Regions from separate parts of the Homo sapiens genome. Here all the other regions are linked to region 4. The links are contacts of gene promoters, found by promoter capture Hi-C in human tissues and cell types (Jung and others, 2019). All regions are on one chromosome and are shown on one strand. Each heading gives the region's core, a stretch centred on a gene start or on the middle of the fragment in contact. The rest is flanking DNA. Distances are from core to core; before and after follow the strand shown. Region 1 overlaps GRK5 (G protein-coupled receptor kinase 5). Region 2 overlaps GRK5 (G protein-coupled receptor kinase 5). Region 3 overlaps GRK5 (G protein-coupled receptor kinase 5). Region 4 holds the start of PRDX3 (peroxiredoxin 3).

Evidence for each region. The method cuts DNA at HindIII sites, captures the fragments that hold promoters and counts their contacts. A contact is called where the count stands out against the background at its distance.
Region 1: a fragment that was not itself captured here is called in contact with the fragment with the promoter of PRDX3 in region 4 in 3 of the 25 tissues and cell types used here (dorsolateral prefrontal cortex, liver and spleen).
Region 2: a fragment that was not itself captured here is called in contact with the fragment with the promoter of PRDX3 in region 4 in 1 of the 25 tissues and cell types used here (mesendoderm cells).
Region 3: a contact is called between a fragment that was not itself captured here and the fragment with the promoter of PRDX3 in region 4, in 2 of the 25 tissues and cell types used here (spleen and thymus).

What each region holds. Positions count from the first base shown.
Region 1 is chr10:119,326,523-119,329,397 of GRCh38, forward strand. GRK5 (G protein-coupled receptor kinase 5) reads left to right here. Exons shown (of 16, transcript NM_005308.3): 2 at 1-89. Among named protein-coding and RNA genes, the nearest start is that of GRK5-AS1, 11 kb to the right of the region's middle. The HindIII fragment of the contact is 5,135 bases long and covers 1-2,875 here.
Region 2 is chr10:119,350,434-119,353,133 of GRCh38, forward strand. All of the region lies in intron 2 of GRK5 (G protein-coupled receptor kinase 5), which reads left to right. Among named protein-coding and RNA genes, the nearest start is that of GRK5-AS1, 12 kb to the left of the region's middle. The HindIII fragment of the contact is 5,641 bases long and covers 1-2,700 here.
Region 3 is chr10:119,372,772-119,375,537 of GRCh38, forward strand. The region is part of intron 2 of GRK5 (G protein-coupled receptor kinase 5); the gene reads left to right. Among named protein-coding and RNA genes, the nearest start is that of MIR4681, 3.8 kb to the right of the region's middle. The HindIII fragment of the contact is 8,040 bases long and covers 1-2,766 here.
Region 4 is chr10:119,177,465-119,180,164 of GRCh38, forward strand. PRDX3 (peroxiredoxin 3) reads right to left here and starts at 1,348. Exons shown (of 7, transcript NM_006793.5): 1 at 1,291-1,348. The coding sequence starts at 1,326. RefSeq lists enhancers at 227-871, 871-1,350 and a silencer at 1,381-1,490. The HindIII fragment of the contact is 15,713 bases long and covers 1-2,700 here.

The sequences.
Region 1 (2,875 bases), core at 46-2,545, 150 kb after region 4:
AGGAAAGCGCAAAGGGAAAAGCAAGAAGTGGAAAGAAATCCTGAAGTTCCCTCACATTAGCCAGTGTGAAGACCTCCGAAGGACCATAGGTAAGCTGTCCTGCCTGGGGGCTGTGCGGGGAGTGAGTAGCAGGTGATCCGCCAAGCCGTTTGTGCATTAAGGCAAATGGGTGAGCCGCCAAGCTGTCTGTGCAGTGAGGCAAATGCCAATCAGTGGACACAGTATTGTGCTTCCAGGTAGGGGCTCCAGGCTGACCTTTTTGCTAATCAACATAAACAGGCAACCAGTATTCATTGAATATATGGCATGTGCCGGGCAGAGTGACCTCCTCCCAGTTATCCTTTGAGGCAGGTGCTATTATTTAATATTTCACTTCACCTTTCAGATGGGGAAACTGAGGCACAGAGTGGTTCTGTAACGGCCCAAAGTCACACAGCTGATGGGAGGGTGGTGGAGGTGGGCCAGGCCCAACACAGAGCCACCGCTCATAACTTCTCCCCTTTCTTCCTGGAGCCTGTGGGTCCTGCCCTCAGGGGGCAGCCCAGGCTTTGGGAGCTGAGAGTCAGGTGGGGTGGGGGATGTGGGGTGAGGTGGGGGAGGTAGGGCTCCCCTTTCCACTTGCTGGGGATGTCAGTGCTCCTGAGGAGCCACTGGGCTCAGTGGCACAGCTTAGCCCCCTGTATCCAGCACACACACACCAGGCACCTCCAAGAGCAGCCAACCAAGTGGGTCTGTGCCTGGTCCCACGCAGGACACGGCTGTGGTGAGGAGGCCTGGGTGCCTGGGCGAGAGCGCCCAGGGGACAGGCATGATGTGAGGCCCCACTCCAGAGTGTTTGGGGTCCCGGCCCTTCTCCCCTCTGTGCCCTGGGGTGGGTCCTTCCCCATCACTGCCTGAGGGCTCCCCATCCGCTTATTATTGTCAGAGGTCATGGACGTGCTGAACACGTTTAAGAAGACTCAAGTCCACTGAAGGCTGGGCACGGGGTGGTGCTGCCCAGAACTCCATAGGCCCAGCTTTTCTGGGGACTTCTGCCCAGGGCCTCGGGTGAGCTGCCCCGTGCCTGCCCTGGAATTCAAGGCCACATGTAGCCATTTATTCAGCTTTTCTAAATGGCCTCTTCACGGTCTGTCCCCACCAGTTTCCAGGGCCGGGGGGACTTACCTGCCACCCCCAGGCTTGCTCCGTCCTGGCCCTGGGCCACTCAGTCCACACTCCATGTTTATAGGTGATAGGAGGCCATCTGTGCCCCGCCCCACGACGGCAGACATGAGCAGGTGAAGCAAGGTGGGATCCTGAAGGGTCAGGAAACGTCCTTAAGACCCACCTTCCATCCCTAAAATCCCAGGCACATCAGAATCCCCATGGTGTTCTCGGGCCGAGAATGCTGCTGGCCTGAGGGATTGGGGGCTCTGGGTCCAGGCAGACATGGGTTCAGATCCTGCCCTCTCTGCTGGCCACATGACAAGTTACTTTATCCTGCTGAGCCTGTTTCCCCAGCTGTAACACTGTCTGTGAACCCAGTCATAGGGTGGTGGAGTGGGTGAGATGAGACCATGTGTGTAAAGGGCTTAGCTGGTGCCCTCGTCGGGAGACCAGGGGCCCATGCCCCTCTGCACACTGGCGTGCTTTCCGGAGTTCCCACAGACACCACGGTGCCGTGGATGCCGTGTGCACCCTTGATGATCAGCTTTTCTGCTGGAGGCAGTCGAGGTCGGGTGGAAGAGAAGAGGGGCTGTGTTCCTGGGGCTGTAGCTTACTGGGGAGGATTTGACCACTGAGACTTTGCAGGGGGCCTTCAGAGAGGGGAGCCAGGGAGAACCCCTCTGGTGACTAGCCATTTCCTCATGGGGGACCATTTTGTTCTTCATGCTAATTTTGGCTCAGAGAGAATAGGGCCTGTTGTGGGACTGGGGAGGAGACCTTAGTTGCCATGGTTGCAACTCACCCATGTGTGCCCAGCAAGTACCCCCTTTCTGGTGAGCCAAGCCTTCTCTGTCATTTTCATCCTGGGTCTGCTGGCTGCCAGAAAGCCATTCCTGGATGCTGAGCCCAGCTTCTCCCAAAAGAGGGATGTTACCTCACAACCCATTCACTGTGGCCCCAGGGAACGTCTTGCACTCATCCACAGGGCCACAGGGCTGCTCGGAGAGACCTTTCTGGGGTGTTGAGTTGGAGGTGAGAGCTTACAACAGGAGGAAAGCATCTCCAAGGGGAGCAATGTGAGAAGCGGGCACCTGCGCACAGCCACGCTCACCTGGCAGGGCGGTGCTTCCCGGCCCTGGCTAAACTGTCTGCAGGTGGTGATGCCAGGAGTGCTATGGGGCACAGCCAGATGTGAAGGCCACTTCCTCAGAGAAGCCTCTTTTGACTCCTGAATTTAAATGAGCTCCAGACCAGAGTCTCTCAGAGCACCTGTCCTCTTCTGCCAGAGCACCCTTCCTCAGGGCTCTTTGGGGAGGAACTGGATTGTTAAAATTCACCACTGCGTAGTTGGTGCCTGCCTCACAGGAGGGGCACAATAGATGTTAGTTGGATGAACGAGGGAAGGAAAGAATAAATGAGGTGTAAGTGACCACTCAACTTATGAAGTGTTTCTAATAAATAGAAGAAGAGCATTGAGAGCCAGATACTGAGCATTCATGTATCTGCCATCCAGATGAGAGAAATCTTAACATTTTGCTATATTTTATTCATGTGTTTCTCAAAAATATAAAAGATGAAAATATGAAATATAGGATTTATGGTTCCAGACAAGAGGGAGTAGATGCGGTGTTTCCTGTCCTTCCCGCTAAGGACAGTCAAAAACCCTGGACATTATGTATAAAACAAACATAAGATTTTGAAAGCCGGGAGAGAAGAAGGCAGACTGGCT
Region 2 (2,700 bases), core at 117-2,616, 170 kb after region 4:
CTTTTCCATTGCTCAAAAGTGTCTCTGACACCGAGGCTGGATCCTGCAGCATCTTTGTCACAGCTCACATTTTATTTGGAATCTGGTGTTTTCAGAATGTCACCACCTCTTGCTTTGCGTTTCCCGATGGAAACATTTCACAAGAATCTTTTCAGCTGTCGAAGTGGTGCAACCCTCTTTCAGAAGGTTTTATTTGTCCAGCGCAGAGAAGAACCCCTTTTTTGTGAAGTCCCTGCCACGTTTCACTGGTCAGTTCAGATCTTGCCAGGCTGCCATGGAGTGGATCAAATCCCATTACAGCAAAAGCTGTTTGAGTTTCATGGACACGTTTGTGGAAACAATTGCAGACTCCTCTGTTGACAGTCTACTTCCAGTGTGTAATGTTTGATAGAACATGCACGCAGCACAGCAGAAGAATTTGGACAGCCCTCAGAATGTGCTGGAATGGAATTTGGCTGGGCCTGCTGTCCAGGTCTCTGATGGGGCTGTGGGAGAATGTTTGCCCACCCATTAGGCAGATATTCAATGGGCTCCGTCTGTGTTGCAGATACTGGGCTAATCACAGAGATAAGTGCAACCCAGGCCCCACCCTCAGGGAGCCTAGTCAGTAGGGAATGGAAGAGACATCTGCATTTTGTTCCTAAATATGTCAGAATCATGTTAGGAAGTGGATGGAATGTGTTATGCATTTATTTTAATGTATGTCATTAAAAAAATCCAGCCACTGCAACAGTAATTCCACTATGTTATTACTTAGAAAGACTAAGTTGGAAAAAGACAGGAGGGGCAGTTAATTACAACCTAAGTTAAAGAAAGATATTGAGTAAATACTGTAATGGTGGTAACTCTTTGATATGGTTTGGCTCTGTGTCCCCACCCAAGTCTCGTCTTGAATCGTAGCTCCCATAATTCCCACATGTTGTGGGAGGGACCTGATGGGAGATAGTTGAATCATGGGGGTGGTTTCTCCATTACTGTTCTTGTGGTAGTGAATAAGCCTCACCAGATCTGATGGTTTTATAAGGGAAAACCCCTTTCACTTGGCTCTCATTCTCTCTTGCCGGCCGCCATGTAAGATGTGCCTTTCCTCTTCTGCCATGATTGTGAGGCTTCCCTGGCCATGTGGAACTGTGAGTCCATTAAACCTCTTTTTCCTTATAAATTACCCAGTCTCGGGTATGTCTTTATCAAGCAGAGTGAGGATGGACTAAGACACTATTATAGGTGGTAGGTAAAAACCATGACAGCAGCTCATGAATGACTGGTATCTGGAAAAAATAAGTTCAGGTGTATTTTGTGTTGATTGGTTGCCAGGGGCTTTACCTCTGTTCTCATCCAGTCCTTGGGAACCCTGGATAATGGTAGTGTCAGATGGTAGTCCCAACTGACAGCTGATAAAAGCTCATAAAGTTCAAAGAAGTGAAATGATTCATCCAAGGTCACATGACTAGTAAGTGAGGGAACTTGAATTTGGATCCAGGTCTGTCAACTCCTGATCCTGAACTCTTAGCCACTATGCTATATGGCAATTGATCAAATTAAAAAGTGATCCTTCCCTCTGCAGAGTGTAATCCAGGAAAGCTTCCTAGGGGAGGTGGCCTCAACTGAGTGGTAGGCTTTAGCAAGGGAAGTTTGGGTGGTAAGGTAGAATGTCCCATGGGTCAGATACCCATAATTATTGGCTGGATGGTTTGAATTATAGTGACTTAAACACTTTTTCCTCATATAAATAAAATCTTGAGTTAGGCCATGCGTTGGCTCTTCTGTGTCATCAGGGTCCTAGGCTGCTTTTATCTCTCGATTCCACTAGGTGTCTCATGATCCAAGATGGCAGATAGAGCTCCAGCCACAATATTCTTGTTCCAAAGAAGTAGAAAAAGATAAGAGGGAAAGGGTAAAAGTACATATCTCCCAATGTGTGAGCCCCTTGAAGGAGCTTTTCTGGAAGGGAAAGCTAACAAGTTATTCTTGCATCTCATTGGCTGGCCCTGGTTATTAGGGAGGCTGCCCACTGTGTGCTCAGCATATGTGAATGGAGGACAAACATCCTGCCCTCAAGGTGCTTACAGCAGATCGAACTGCTTCTCGTTGAAGCTGTAAAGGAGACTGCAGTTGAGTGGGTAAGAAAAAGCCTCCTCTAACCAGACTTGCCTCTGGAGTGGCCCCAATAAGCTCCTGGGTCTGTTTTGGTTTCTTCAACACATTTATTTGGTGTTTAATTGGAGGGGAAAGTTGCAGCGATTATGTCACCTGCCCAAGGCAGCCCCTGCCCACCATCTCATCAACCCTTCTGAAAAGACAAGAGTCACTCTTGGTACAAACCAGTCTCATTCCACCACCTGCCATCCTCTGGTGCAATTAGAGCAAGAGCCCACTTTCCACCCGAATCCTGGATTGGTGTCATTTAAGCTCAGCAGAGCCCCGTATGGTGGTGACCAGGCCCAAGTTCTGTGCAGCTTACGGGCAAGAGTAGGACCTGGGCACTGTGGGCCACCCGGGCTCCGTCCTCCCTCTCTCTCCCCTGAGGACCTGGGTTTGCTTTTCACTTCTTATCTCAGGAGGGTATGCTGGCCAGTTGCCAGAAATATCAAAAGTTTGGAGAGTTCTTTAAAATCAGTGGAGCCTTCTGGGTTGCCAATGTTGTTCCGGGGACTGGTTCAGAGATCAAATCTTGTTCATGTGAAGAAGCCCTCTCTGCTG
Region 3 (2,766 bases), core at 58-2,557, 200 kb after region 4:
AAATAAAGAAAAAGTAACTTTCCTTAGAGTGCCAAAAAATGTTCAAGTAAAGACTCAGATTGGTAAGGCCTGGGCCCTGTGCTCATCTCCGAGCTTGGTGTTGGCCTCACCCAAAGAATTATTATAGGGGAAGGGATGACTCTCCAAAGAAAGGAATACAAGACCTTGTGTTTCTAGAGCAGTTCAAAGTGTGGTTCGTGGACTGATTTTACTGGTCTGTGATAAGTACAGAGATGCTTAGAAACACTCATAGCAATTCGTTGTGGCTGTAGCATCCAGGTGTGTGATCAGTGGACTCATCTTGTGGAACAGGTGATAAAGCAGTTGGCTGTTGTCAGACTCACGTGGAAAGTTGGGAACAATGGAGATTTACAAAAGTATCAGTCCGTGATGGATTGGAAATTTAAAAAACTGGTTCTTTTCCATAGATAGCTGGAAAAGCACTGCTTTAAACTGGAGAGTATGTTAAAACACAGATTTCTGGGCCCTACCAGTGGAATTCTGATTCAGTCAGTAGGTGATATGGTTTGGCTATGTCCCCACCTAAATCTCATGTTGAATTGTAGCTCCCATAATTCCCACATGTGTGGGAGGGACCTGTTGGGAGGTAATTGAATCATGGGGATGGGTCTTTCCCATGCTGTTCTCATGATAGTGAATAAGTCTCACAAGATCTAATGGTTTTATAAAGGGGAGTTCCCTTGCAAACGCTCTGTCTTGCCTGCCACCATGTAAGACGTCCCTTGCTCTTCTGTCATGATTGTGAGGCCTCCCCAGTCACGTGGAACTGTGAGTCAAGTGAACCTCTTTCCTTTATAAATTACCCAGTCAGGTATGTCTTTATTAGCAGCATGAGAACAGACTAATATAGTAGGTCTGAAGTGGGGTGGGGGGAATGAGAATCTGCATTTTCAGTAGGCTCCCAGGTGGAATATTTTGAGAGTTACTGAAATGTGACACAGACAGGAAGTTCGCACATGCTGTTGGGGAAATGAAAATGGTGCGGATAGACTTGCTCGACACGGGGTTGCCACAAACCTTCAATTCATATAAAAAATGCAATATCTGCAAAAGACAATAAAGTGAAGTGCAATAATACGAGTGTGCCTGCGTAGTCTGCGGAGGCTTTCACTACAACAGCGAGCTGAATCGTTGTGAAAGAGACCATATGGCCCTCAAACTACTACCATATGGCTAGTAGTAAATATCTCCCACTAGCCCTTTACAGAAAAGTTTGCCTACCCTTGCCTTAGAACCAGGGGGTGAGATGCGAGATCAGGAATCCCTATTGAGGTTGGATGGAAACAGTTTTTGGAATCCTGGTTGAAACTGACCTCCAAGGTTGATCTTGGAATCTGGTCTAAGTCCCTGTAATCATCTGCATTTGTGAAGCTGGCATGCCAAGAAGGTTTGCAGGTTGAGAAGGGGCTTAGAGGTTATTATTCGAACCCCCTTATTTTATGGATGAGGAAACTGAGACCAAGAAAGGGGAAGTGACTTGTCCAAGGTTACACAGAGAATTGATGGCAGAGCTGAGACCGACCCCTGCCCAGTGCTCATCCACTGTGGTGTCCTTGGCAACAGGCCTGGGGTGTGGTATCTTTAGTGGCTTACAATGAGAATAGGCTAAGAGGCAAGCGAGGTCTCTCCCAAGCACCCAAACCTCACCAGGTGAAGGTGGTGAGGACAGGGGCCCCTTGGCTTGCTGTGCCCTCTGTTGGTTGACGTACCCTCTGTTGGCTGACAACTTGGCAAGTGTGAGCCCTGTCCTGGGAAGGGCAGAGTTGGAAGTGAGTTGGCTGTGCCCAGGCCCCCAAGACGTGTGTTGCTTATTGTATGTGCATGTGTCTTAGCATGTGGATTTTCAGCCAGTTACATTCATTACCAAGGAAGTGTACTTGCTGGTACAGTTTGGATATTTGTCCCTGCCTAAGTCTCATGTTGAGATGTAATCCCTAATGTTGAGGTGGAGCCTGGTGGGAGGTGTTTGGGTCATGAGGGCATTGTTGGTGATAGTGAGTTCTTGTGAGATCTGGTTGTTGCAGTGTGGCACCTCCCCTTCAACTCTCCTCTGGCCATGTGACATGCCTGCTCCTGCTTCACCTTCTACCACGATTGTAAGCTTCCTGAGGCCTCCCCTGAAGCAGATGCCAGTGCTATGCTTCCTGTACAGCCTGTAGAACCATGAGCCAATTAAACGTGTTTTCTAATAAATTAACCAGGCTCAGGTATTTATAGCAATGCAAGAATGGCCTAATACACTTGCTGGCCACTCACTTAACACTACTTGCTGGTTCTCGCCCCTTCACGCCTCACCTCCCATCCCTGAGTGACCTACCACTTTCTGTCTGTTTTCTTTAGGACAGTCTTGAAGATCCACTCAGTGACATCCTATGGTGGTCTCAGACCTAGCCCAGAATTCTTGTCCTAATTCACCTTCTCCCACACTTCAGCACACCCTGCAGGTCCTCCTGGCATCTCACCTGGAGGTTTCACCTCCCCACTGTAGCTTCTCCTTGCCCCTCCTCCCAGCCTCAAGCCCCATTCTCTCTGGCTTTGACCTTTTTCCCTCTTCTTCACCTGGACTCAGCTTCTCCCCCTGCCTGCATTGTCTGCTCATTCCCATATTCTAGTGTGCTCTCCATGGCCACCACCCCTGAAACTGACCCAGCATCATGAGAGGATGTCTTGCCCCCTCTGCCACGACACCTTCCAGGACACTTCCCAATTGACTTATGCAGTTTTGTTACATAGACATTGTTATGT
Region 4 (2,700 bases), core at 98-2,597:
CTGGCCAAGATGGTGAAACTCCATCTCTACTAAAAACACAAAACTTAGCCAGGCGGCGGTGGCGGGCACCTGTAATTCCAGCTGCTTGGGAGGCTGAGGCAGGAGAATTGCTTGAACCCGGGAGGCAGAGGTTGCAGAGCCGAGATCGCGCCATTGCACTCTAACCTGGGCGACAACTCCGTCTCAAAAAAAAAAAAAAAAAAAATCAGAAACTCCATGCGCTTAAAGCAACACAGGGTTCAGAAGCCAGGGGACTTGTGCAGGCTTTTCCCAGCACTATCTGCTGAGTATGTTCTACCATTTCAAGGTTTTCCTTAGAAAAACAAGGCCCCTCCAGCACCAGCGACAAGTAAACAAGAAGAGCCAAATTCAGCCTCTGGGAGTCTGTTAAAGGCTCAAGGGACATGTTTACTCAACTTTTTTTTTTTTTTTTTGAAACAGAGTCTCGCTCTTTTACCCAGGCTAGAGTGCAGTGGCGCGATCTCGGCTCGCTGCAGTCTCGACCTCCTGGGCTCAAGTGATCCTCCCACCTTAGCCTCCCCAGGAGCACTGACCACCATGCCCGGCTATTTTTTTTTTTAGAGACAAGGTCTCACTATTATTGTCCAGGCTGGTCTCAAACTCCTGGGCTCAAGTGATCTGCCCGCCTCGGCCTCCCAAAGTGCTAGGATTACAGGCGTGAGCCACCGCACTCTGCCGGTTTGCTCAACTTTAATGTTCAAAATGACTCAGGAGAACGAAAGGGGCTGTGTTGAACCCCACCAGAGAAAGCCGTGTACCAAAAGAGCACGACGCATTGCCCACAGTTAAGCAGGAAACAGCAGCAGAAACACGCGGGAGTGGGATTGGGAGGGAAAGCCTTTGTGAGTTTTTTAGCACTTTGCGCGTTTTTATCCAGTATTTAAGGGGCTGTTCACAGCAACGCCTTGATGTAGGCATCATTCTTTCCATCTTAAGTACACAGTCTGAGAAAGGCGAAGGCGCTTGCCCAAGATCACAGGGTCGGTGGCAGAATCAGGGCCAGGACCTTAAGTGGAGATGGGCCTGGGGACCGGGGACGCCGAAAGAGGAGGGACTCGGGGAAGAGACCGCGAGGATGGAGTGGGGAAGGGCGGTTCTGCGCAGGCGCATGGAACCTTCCCGGAGGGAGGCCTCTGGGTCCGTTACCCGCGGAAACCCTCCAAGAAGGGCGAATGGCCCTCATGCCCAGAAGCGCGGGGTCCTGTCTGAGAAGCACGTTCCCGGAGCCACCAGTGTCTCCACGCCTGTCCCCAGCCGACAGCCACTCACCGACGCTCGGAGCAACCGTCCTACAGCAGCCGCCATCTTCAGTGCACTCGGGCGCCACGGGGCGGGCAGAGACGCAGGGGCGGGGCCTACGGGGTGGTGAGCGGGCCCTCTGCTGGTGGGGGGGCGGGGCCGGAGGAGCCACCGCCTCCCCGCCTCCTGGAGACCCTGAGGGAGAAATTCCCTTTAAGGCTGAATGCTTGGGCAAGTGACACGTGGTTTTCCTACTGTCGCCCCAACCTTAAAAGAACGAATCCAGGCGGGGCATTAGGTATTTGTTTCCATATTTCCCACTGTTTTGTTAACCTTGTGTGGATTACTGTGTCTAGTATTTCTGTGACAGGATCCCTTTCTTATTTCAGCCTCAGGTAGAGACTTCCGGCTTCTGTATGAAATGGAATTAATTACAAATGCAGTTTTAGTCCGTTAATAAGCTAAGTGGGCTAGACACATCAAGGCTTTGTTGGCCTGAAATCCGCTGGAATTGTGTGTGGTCTAACATTTGGCCTCTCTTCCCAAAATTGGGAAAACTGGGACAAATTTAAAATTTGGTTTTTGTCTATTAATGAAGCCAAGTGTTCAGTGGTGAGCATAGTACTTGAAGCAACCACATCAAACATAGATAAAAATCACACCGTGGCCTTACAGTAAGTGTGACAAATTGCAGTCTTGGAGCTGGTATTTTCTTTTCTCTTTTCTTTTCTTTTCTTTTTTTTTTTTTTTGAGACTGGGTCTTGCTCTGTCGCCCAGGCTGGAGTGCAGTGGCATGATCTTGGCTCACTGCAACCTCTGCCTCCCGGGTTCAAGCGATTCTCCTGCCTGAGCTTCATGAGTAATTGGGATTCCTGAGCAGCTGGGATTACAGCCGCCTGCCACCATGCCCAGTTAAGTTTTTGTATTTTAAGTAGAGATGGGGTTTCACCATGTTGGCCAGGCTGGTCTCAAACTCCTGACCTCAAGTGATCCGCCCACCTCGGCCTCCCAAAGTGCTGGGATGATAGGCATGAGCCACTGCACCCGGTCTGAGTTGGTATTTTCCAATCACTAGTCATTCAATTAGCAACTTCGTTTCTCAAGTCTTCTTATCACCAAATATCACTTACTATTTTCTTTAAATTGGCTTTCTTTTTTTTTTTTCCTTTTCTTTTTTGAGACAGAGTCTCACTCTGTCGTCCAGGCTAGAGTGCAGTGGCACAATCTCGGCTCACTGCAACCTCTACCTCCTTGGTTCGAGCGATTCTTCTGGCTCAGCCTCTCGAGTAGCTGGGATTACAGGCGTGCACCACTAAACCCGGCTAATTTTTTTAGTATTTTTAGTAGAGATGGGGTTTCACCATATTGGCTAGGCTGGTCTTGAACTCCTGACATCAGGTGATCCTCCCACCTTGGCCTCCCAAAGTGCTGGGATTACAG